Regions from separate parts of the Homo sapiens genome. Here regions 1 and 3 are each linked to region 2. The links are contacts of gene promoters, found by promoter capture Hi-C in blood cells and fetal thymus (Javierre and others, 2016). All regions are on one chromosome and are shown on one strand. The core of a region is centred on a gene start or on the middle of the fragment in contact, and the rest is flanking DNA. Distances in the headings are between cores, read along the strand shown. Region 1 holds the start of SUPT20H (SPT20 homolog, SAGA complex component). Region 2 holds the start of AKAP11 (A-kinase anchoring protein 11). Region 3 holds the start of ALG5 (ALG5 dolichyl-phosphate beta-glucosyltransferase).

Evidence for each region. The method cuts DNA at HindIII sites, captures the fragments that hold promoters and counts their contacts. A CHiCAGO score of 5 or more calls a contact.
Region 1: the fragment with the promoter of SUPT20H here is called in contact with the fragment with the promoter of AKAP11 in region 2 in 2 of 17 cell types (total B cells and total CD8 T cells); the score reaches 10.9 in total B cells.
Region 3: a contact is called between the fragment with the promoter of ALG5 here and the fragment with the promoter of AKAP11 in region 2, in 1 of 17 cell types (total CD8 T cells). The highest score is 7.3, in total CD8 T cells.

Annotation. Positions count from the first base shown.
Region 1 is chr13:37,058,350-37,061,049 of GRCh38, reverse strand. It overlaps SUPT20H (SPT20 homolog, SAGA complex component), which reads left to right and starts at 1,362. Exons shown (of 26, transcript NM_001014286.3): 1 at 1,362-1,491. RefSeq lists a silencer at 1,191-1,450. The HindIII fragment of the contact is 8,647 bases long and covers 1-2,700 here.
Region 2 is chr13:42,270,728-42,273,427 of GRCh38, reverse strand. It overlaps AKAP11 (A-kinase anchoring protein 11), which reads right to left and starts at 1,276. Exons shown (of 13, transcript NM_016248.4): 1 at 1,200-1,276. RefSeq lists a silencer at 1,017-1,366 and an enhancer at 1,907-2,086. The HindIII fragment of the contact is 2,900 bases long and covers 1-2,090 here.
Region 3 is chr13:36,997,764-37,000,607 of GRCh38, reverse strand. It overlaps ALG5 (ALG5 dolichyl-phosphate beta-glucosyltransferase), which reads left to right and starts at 1,268. Exons shown (of 10, transcript NM_013338.5): 1 at 1,268-1,373. The coding sequence starts at 1,308. RefSeq lists enhancers at 1-82, 543-592 and a silencer at 1,053-1,352. The HindIII fragment of the contact is 11,758 bases long and covers 1-2,844 here.

The sequences.
Region 1 (2,700 bases), core at 113-2,612, 5.2 Mb after region 2:
TGGTATGTAAAATGAATGGTTCAGCTGCTGTAGAAACATTTGTTTATGGGTTCCTCAAATATTTTCACGTAGAATTACTATAAGACCCAGAAGTTCCACTATGTTTATACCCAAAAGAATTGAAAACAGGGACTCGAACAAATACTTGTATACAAATGTTCATATCATTGCTATTCACAATAGCCCGAAAGTGGAAACAACCCAAATGTCCATCAGTGGATGGACAGGTAAAACTGTGGCATCTAGGTACAGTGGAATAGTAGCCATAAAGAGACATGAAGTACCGATACATGCAACAAGGTGTACAAGGTGAACCTGCAAAAGATTATGCTACGAAGACAGACCAAAAGGTCACACATTCCATTTATATGAAATATCCGTAATAGGTACCACAGTTTGAAAGCTGATTGGCATTTGCCAGGGGCTGAGAGAGGGAGGAATGGGAGTAACCACTTAATGTGTTCGGATTTTATTTTGGAGTGTACTTTAATACACTTATAATGTGTGCAACCACTAACTCTAATTCCAAGACACTTTCATTCATTATGACCCTTGGCATTGTGAACGGCAAATAATAAATGCTCATTAAAAAGATTCACCCCAGGCCGTGCATGATGGCTCACGCCTGTAATCCCAGCACTTTGGGAGGCCAAGGCGGGTGGATCACTTGAGATGAGGAGTTCAAGAGCAGCCTGCCCAACATAGTGAAACAGTCTCTACTAAAAATACAAAAATTAGCCGGGTGTGGTGGTGCACGCCTATAATCCCAGCTACTCCGGAGACTGAGGCAGGGAGAATCGCTTGAACCCAGGAGGCAAAGGTTGCAGTTAGCTGAGATTTCTCCACTCCACTCCAGCCTGGGCGACAGAGCGAGACTCTGTCTGAAAAACAAACGAACAAACAAAACAAAACAGACCTTACAATGTGTGCTAGTAATGCGGTTTCTGAATTTTTAGAACCCTTCTCTGGGGTGGTTTTTTTAAAAACATAAACTCATTGGCAGTTGATATACTACAGAAGGTTGTACGCATTGGACTAGTAAATGTAGGTAACGGTGTCGCTGTTTTTCCATTTGTATGTGCTAAGCAAAGAGAAAAGCTAGTTCTATGTTTCTTCCACTCTAGAAATTCAACAGGGTCGTTTTTCCCCAAATTCACATCTACACCCTCCCTCCCACTTTGCGGACTCGGACTCCAGGATTGAGCAGAGATCCTGGGCCCCGCCTCCCGCCCGGACGCAAGTCTCTGCGGGCCTCACCGGCGTCCTGCGCGGAACGCAGCGCTCCAGGCTCCTGGCAGCGGCCCCGCCCTCCCGGCTCCTCCCCTTCCGCCCGCCTTCCCCGCCCCTCGGCCCAGCCTGCCAATCGGAAGTGCGGCCGCCGGAACTGGCTGTTGGTGGGGGTGCAGCACTGAGCCGCCGACGGGGCGGGTGGGCTTTGCTGCCGAGCAGGCGGCGCCGTCTTGGGGCCTAGCGGCGAGGCGACCCGCACAGGTGGGCGGTGGCGGTAGGTGGGTGGCCAGCGACTGGCAACGCGGTGGCTTAGACGCGCGAGATCCGGCCAGGGTCAGAGGTGAGCGGGCCGCATCCCAGAGCCCGCTGGAGGAAGACGGGGTCCCCAGAGACCCGGCAGGCCGGGGCGGAGGTTGAGGCAGCTAAACTCCAGGTGGACGCCTACATCGCCTTTCGCGGTGTTGCTAAGCCGAACTTTTAATTTTAGTTTGACTTTTGGGTTCCAGAGACGGGTATTTCCGGACACTGGCAAGAATTTTGCCTTGCGTGTCTTCGAAGGCGGTTTTCTTGGTGTCCATATTGCATAAAGGCTTGTCGCTCCTCTGTGGAGATGACGGTTGTACAGGTAAAGCCTAAGTTGTGACAAAAGCTCCTGCAATGGGAAGACTCTGGTCGATCAGGGAAATCAGTAGAATTGATAGCAACGCGTAGAATTGATAGCAACGCTTAGAATTGGATTAATTACTGGCCATGGTTACCCGGCGCTCAGAAATGAACTTGGAGAACAGTTGCCCTGGAAGCCATCTCCCGTAGCCACTGCGTAGTGGGGGCCGCGTCTTCTTGAGTGCAATTCATCAAAGTCTCTAGTAGGACTCAAAATATAAAGTGACGAGCAGGATTTTCGGAGTCGAGTACAGTGTACTTGGGTTGATCACCATGTTATAAAGTTAGATCCAAATTAAGAAATACATATTCGTCTCTGAGCAGAATTGGGTCCTTTTTTTAATTGCTTTGCTTTTTTTAAAGAAATGTAAAAACAGATGCCGGTTTGATTAGTTTGCAGGTTGTAATATTGGAAGGGACCTAAGATTGGACACAGAGTTCTGAATTCTGATCTAGGTCTGTGATGTTAGGAAAGTCAGTTGTTCTGATTGCCTTATTCTGTAAAACGGAAATGATAATGATTACAGTTTCCTCACAGGTTCTAGTAAATTCTGTGTATAGACAGAATGTTTGCTTTGTGAGAGATATGAAGTTATTAGTTTTTGTCTGAAGTACTTAAATAATTTAAAGTTAGTAAGCCCCCATCCCCAATTTAGTGACAAGAAATCTTAAAGTCATCACATTTTGTCCGAAAAGTACATAGTGTATCTTCATCTTCAAATTCAGTGGTCAGAAAATTTTCACGTTCACCTAAATTCAACTTAAACCTCCTACGAGCTTTTCAAGGGTAGGAGTAATATCTTACTC
Region 2 (2,700 bases), core at 27-2,526:
ACGACAAGAAAAAATGAATAATCAGGGTACCGTTTGAAAAAGTAAATGTGTTTTTCAAAAAAAAAAAAAATCATTCAATTGCACTATTTTAACTGACACCAATCATGCCAGGCACTGGGCTGCCATCCTAAAATGATGACATTAAAAAAAATATATCTGTGCATTACTGATACCCCATTTTTTCTTAGTACTCCATATTTTGAGTATTTTCAGACATAACAAAATAACAATCGACATGACATTTCTAAAACAGTGGGAAGCAGCTAAGCAAAACGAGCATTTTGCAAGCGATTGAAAAGCTGAAAAGAGAACAGGAATTAACTCCAGTTTGTACTAAAGCTATTAGGTATGTATCTCAGCAGTCTTTCTCACCATGAAACTCCTTAACATCTAAAGCTAAACCACATCCAACTTTATATGGTTTTAGAAGACAGACAAAGCAGAGAAAAAAAATGAAAGCTGGTAATATGGGGAAGAGAAAAAATGTTAGCTTTTACTGTCATTGTCACTTTTTAATACTTCGGTTACATCTACATATTTTTTATAAAGCAGCTTAGATGCCTGGATTAACAGCAGTATACTCAATCCATTCGGGGTACTTTATGGCCAGCCTTAAGCCATTAACAGCCTAGGAGAGTATTTGACAGCAAATCCAAATATCAATACTCTGAGGAGCCCCTTGACGCCTTCCGTTTACAAGATCTGAGCAGCGCCTGCTTCCAAGGCTCCGGGGGTCTGACAGTGAAGGATGCTGTTCGGGAACAAAGTGCAACGTCCTCCCAACCGCTGCAAATGTTCCTGTGCGCACACCACGAACACACACTAAGCACGCGCACCACGCACCCGGGGGGCCGTCTCTGAAGACCACCCCGGGGATGGAAACAGCCTGTCATTAAAAGGGGCGGCAGCTCCACCGCCACACTTGGGACCCCAGGAAGACGCGTCTCGAGACCCAGCACCTCCCTCTACTCTGGGCCCGGTGCGGTGAGTTTCCTCCTTCGGCCGCGCTCCTCCCGCCCTCCTCCCTCCGCCATGCGAAGGCGCAGCTCTCGGGCGGCCCCGAAGCCAGAAGGGGGACCAGCGGCAGGCGGAGGGGCTGGAGCGCCGGAGCCGGGCCGCTCCATCCATGCCGGCCGCACACCCGCCGCCACCCCATCTAAACGCAGCCTCCGCGGCGAGCACGTCGGCGCCCGGCTCACCTGGGGGCCGCAGCCTCCGCAGCTCACAGACATGTCACCGGCCTCAACGACCCGTGAGCGAGCCGGGCAAGCAAGCTGGCCCCCTCCCGCGCTGACCCCCAGCCCTCCCCCTCCCAGCCCCGCGGCCCGCCCCCGCCCTGCCCACCCCTCGGCTTCCGCCGCCGCCGCCGCCGCCGCAGCTCCGGCCCGCAACACCGCCTACTCTCCACGCCTCCCACTCTCTCTCGCGAGAGGGCAGCGCGCCTCTCGCGAGAAAAATTCCGCGGCCGAGCCCGCGCAAAAGTGGGTGGGCGTTTAAAAAGGGAAAGAAGGAACAGGAAAAAAAGCCTTCCCACGTGCTCCAGTGCAGCCCGCGGAGCAGCCCGCGGGGCAGCCCCGCTGGTCACATGACTTAAAGGGGGCCTCTCCATTGGCCGGGACCCACTCAGCCTTGGGAGCTTTAAATTCGAGGGCGACCTACGAACCTGCGGCGGACGTCTTGCGCGCTTCCTGGTCCGTTGCCTTGGAAACGGCTTAACCCTTCCCTCTGGCAAGTCCCCAGGCCTTGGCTTGCTCCGCAGATTTGGTTTCAGGCTCTGCCTCTTTTCCCTCGACCCCTTAGTCTTAACAGCCTGGGGCCAGCTGGGCTCCTTCTTCGCCACAAGGCTAGTTTTGCTTTCTTCCGAAGCCCGGGGCCCTTCCCAAAGTGGCAGCCCCACCAGATCCGAAGGCCCAAGGAAGGCTCATCCTTTCTGATGGCTCCGCCCCTTCTCCCAGCATCTCCGGGGAGGACCACTCACAGCGCACCGGGCAACCAGCCCTATCCCAGCCAAGAAGTAGCTTCCAGGGTTCTCAGGGCCCTAGTGCTCACCCTGATGTCTTTACGTGGTATGGAAATCGGAAAGTAAAGCTTTGGTCACTGGGAAGCCTAGCCAGAGATGAAAAGCTGTTATGGTGATTATTTTCACCTAAAATCGGAAGGGCCAGTCCAGTCAAATTGCCCTGTCTCCTAAAGGGCATCTGTTCCTCAAGAGTGGAAACACCTGGCAATAAGAAAGACATTTTTGAGTGTATCCTCGTTATGAGTTAAGTTTTGCCCTGTTCAGAGGAGAGGGTCACGGAAGAAAGGGTGCATTCGTTTGTTCATTTCTTCATTCAACAAACACTACTCTAGGCTGTTGATTGAACAATGATGAAGACAAGTAGTGTAGATTCTAGGGAACTTATCTGAGGGTGAAAAGAAAAAAAATCTGTTGGTTTTAAGCTGTATGCAAAGAAGTTACAATAAGTGACGTGATGGTGATGGTGACTGAGTGGCTAGTAAAGGGGATGCCCTTTTAAGGAGGAGATATTTTAGCAGCGATTTGAATAACAGACGCAAAAATCAGAGCATAGAGCATTCCAGGAAAAGGATAACACTAATTCAAAGGCCCTAAGTAAGGATCTATTCTAGTGCATTTGAGGGAAGAAGAAATGAGAAAGTAAACTTTCTTGAGCCTGGAGATGGAAACTGTAAGAGTTA
Region 3 (2,844 bases), core at 19-2,518, 5.3 Mb after region 2:
TTTTGACGAATCTGCTGTTAAAGAAGGAGCGGGTCTCCCTCTTTATAAAAGAGCTGGTGCTGTGACTCAGAATAACACCAACAGTTCGGAGATAACAGGGTTTCTAGCGCAGAATCAAGCAGTGCGTGTGGAGCGTTATTCCAATGTTTCTGCGTCTTTTTTCTGCCTGTGACTTAGGCTCAGCCCTGGCCTTGCCTCTTCACTGGTCAAGGGCTCCGTGCTCCAACACATGAGAAACCTGAACTTTTTTTTTTTTTTTTTTTGAGACAGAGTCTCGCTCTGTCGTCCAGGCTGGAGTGCAGTGGCGCGATCTCGGCTCACTGCAAGCTCCGCCTCCCGGGTTCACGCCATTCTCCTGCCTCAGCCTCCCGAGTAGCTGGAACTACAGACGCCCGCCACCGCGCCCCGCTAATTTTTTGTATTTTTAGTACAGACGGGGTTTCACCGTGTTAGCCAGGATGGTCTCGATCTCCTGACCTTGTGATCCGCCCGCCTCGTCCTCCCAAAGTGCTGGGATTACAGGCGTGAGCCACGGCGCTCGGCCGAGAAACCTGAACTTTCTGTGCGCTCATTGTCCGCACCACGTTCTGCTCTGCAGGTCCCGGAGCTGAGGGCTCCTAAGCATCACCTTGTGTTGTAGACTGTGTCGTGCTCAAGGCTGCCATCTCCCTCCTAGGTGGGGTTACCAGATAAAATACAGGATACCACGTTAAATTTGAATGTCTGATAAACACAGCGTGGTTTTTTTGTTTTTTGTTTTTGTTTTTTTGTGGGTTTTTTTTTTTTTAAAGCATGAGTATGCCCCAAATAGAGCATGCAATTAGTTGTTGCCAGAACCTGGAGGGAGCTGGGAAGGCTTTACAGATAGATAGTGGTGATGGTTGCACAGTATGTATGTAATTAATGCCACTCACTATTGTAAACTTAAAATGATTAAAATGGCAACTTTTTATTTTACCACAGTTTATAAAAACTAATGTAATAAACCAGAAACCTGTAACTGGATGAGTCGTATGGTATGTGGCTATCTTAATAAGGCTGTTAAAAACATGATTAGTTTTTTAATCTGAAATTCAAATTAAGTAGACGTCTTGCATACTTGATAAACCTGGCGCCCCGCTGTGGAACCTAGCGCTCCTCTCCACCGACTGGGCGCCGAGGGCACGAGAGCGGCGTTTTCTCCGCCTCGCCACGCGGGGGCGCTGCGGCCAGCGGGCGCGACCTCTCTGGCGGCGGGGCCGGGTCGCGCGGGCGCGCTTCCGCCTGTGTGGAGGTGCGGGATTGGGCGGGCTGCCACGGCATGGAGAATGGCTCCGCTTCTGTTGCAGCTGGCGGTGCTCGGCGCGGCGCTGGCGGCCGCAGCCCTCGTACTGGTGAGAACAGGGATGGGAACCCGCGCAGGCCGGGGCTTACCGCTCTCCTGGAGACTGCGGCTCCTCAGGCGTCCCCTCCTCCGCGCTACCAGTTCTCGGAGAAGTCCCTTTTCCCCTAGATTCCCCCAAATTCCTGACCTCGGAGTTTCCTGGAGTTTCACTCTCCTTTTCTTCGGTTCTTTAATTTTCCCTTGGAATCTTATCTCTTTGTGTGCTCAGAGACTTGTAAGTTTTTTCACACTGGAGCGCACCCACCCGGCCTGGCATCATCGCCGCTTCCATCGCCCCTGGCGCCCGCGCCCCCTACCCACCTCCTCTGTCAACCTCGACCTCTCCCAGACTCTCCGGGACCTGCAGCCGCTGCAGTTCTGCTCCACCCAGGGAGGTCTCGAGCCCCCAGAAGGGGTGTGCTCCCTAGCCTGCTCCCTTGGCTGATGTGGTTAAGCAAATAGGGGTGACGGAGCCTTGACGGCAGCCATCTGTTACAAATGGGAATAAATGCGTGGATCGATGAGACCCACTAGGGACGCAGGGTGAGCGAGAGAGACAGGCCTCAGGCGCCTTGTCCGGGGTCGCATTGTGTCCCAGAATTAAGCACCCTAAATATACTGCCCCTAAACAAGGCAGGACGATAGAATGCAAACTCGATTGTCTTTGCCCTTGCTCTCGAAACACAAAAACATTGTAAACACTTGCTGATTGTTAAGTGGTAGAAAATTGGCGAACTCTCTCCCGCACACCTTGGAATGAGCCTGCCCTCTAGTTAGTAAGTGGAGAGGATTTCAGCTTCCTTGACATTCAGATTAGCCACCTAGACAGCACTGCCAGGAAGGCCACTCTGCCATCTTTCCAGAGGTTGTATAAATTTACAGTTTAGATAAAATGTAATGCATCCTTACTTCTTTGTTGATAGTATCTGGGTGAGAGAGGAGTCCTCTCTTGCCCTAACTAGTAGAGATTTCAGGGTTTAGGGCTTTTTTGTTTTTTCAAGTTTTTGAGCAAACCAGGATTGATTGATTGATTGATTGATTTTTGGCGGGGTGCGGGCGGGGAGTGGATTCACACATTCTTAGATTGAAGCTGCCTTACTTTGGGTCTTTTGCACAGATTTTATGGGATTGTACTGACGGTATTTGTTCCCACTAGCTTGAAGTGATAAGAGCTACCATTTATTGATTGTAGTACTTACTATATGTTGTGTTGCACTTGGTTTAATAGGAGTTATTAAATCTTTAACACTGTGACATATATGTTATCATTAGCATTATTTTACTGGTGAGGAAACATGTTGGAGAAATGAGCTCGTGTACTCAAATGTTGCACAACTAGTGAAACTTAGGTTTTTTAAATGCCAGAGCAAGAAATCATTAAAAAAATAATTTTTCAAAACCTCATCCTGTCTTCATATGTATCCACTCTCCATTACTCACAGTCTCACCTCCTTTCTGAATTATTTTAAAACAACTCGAAG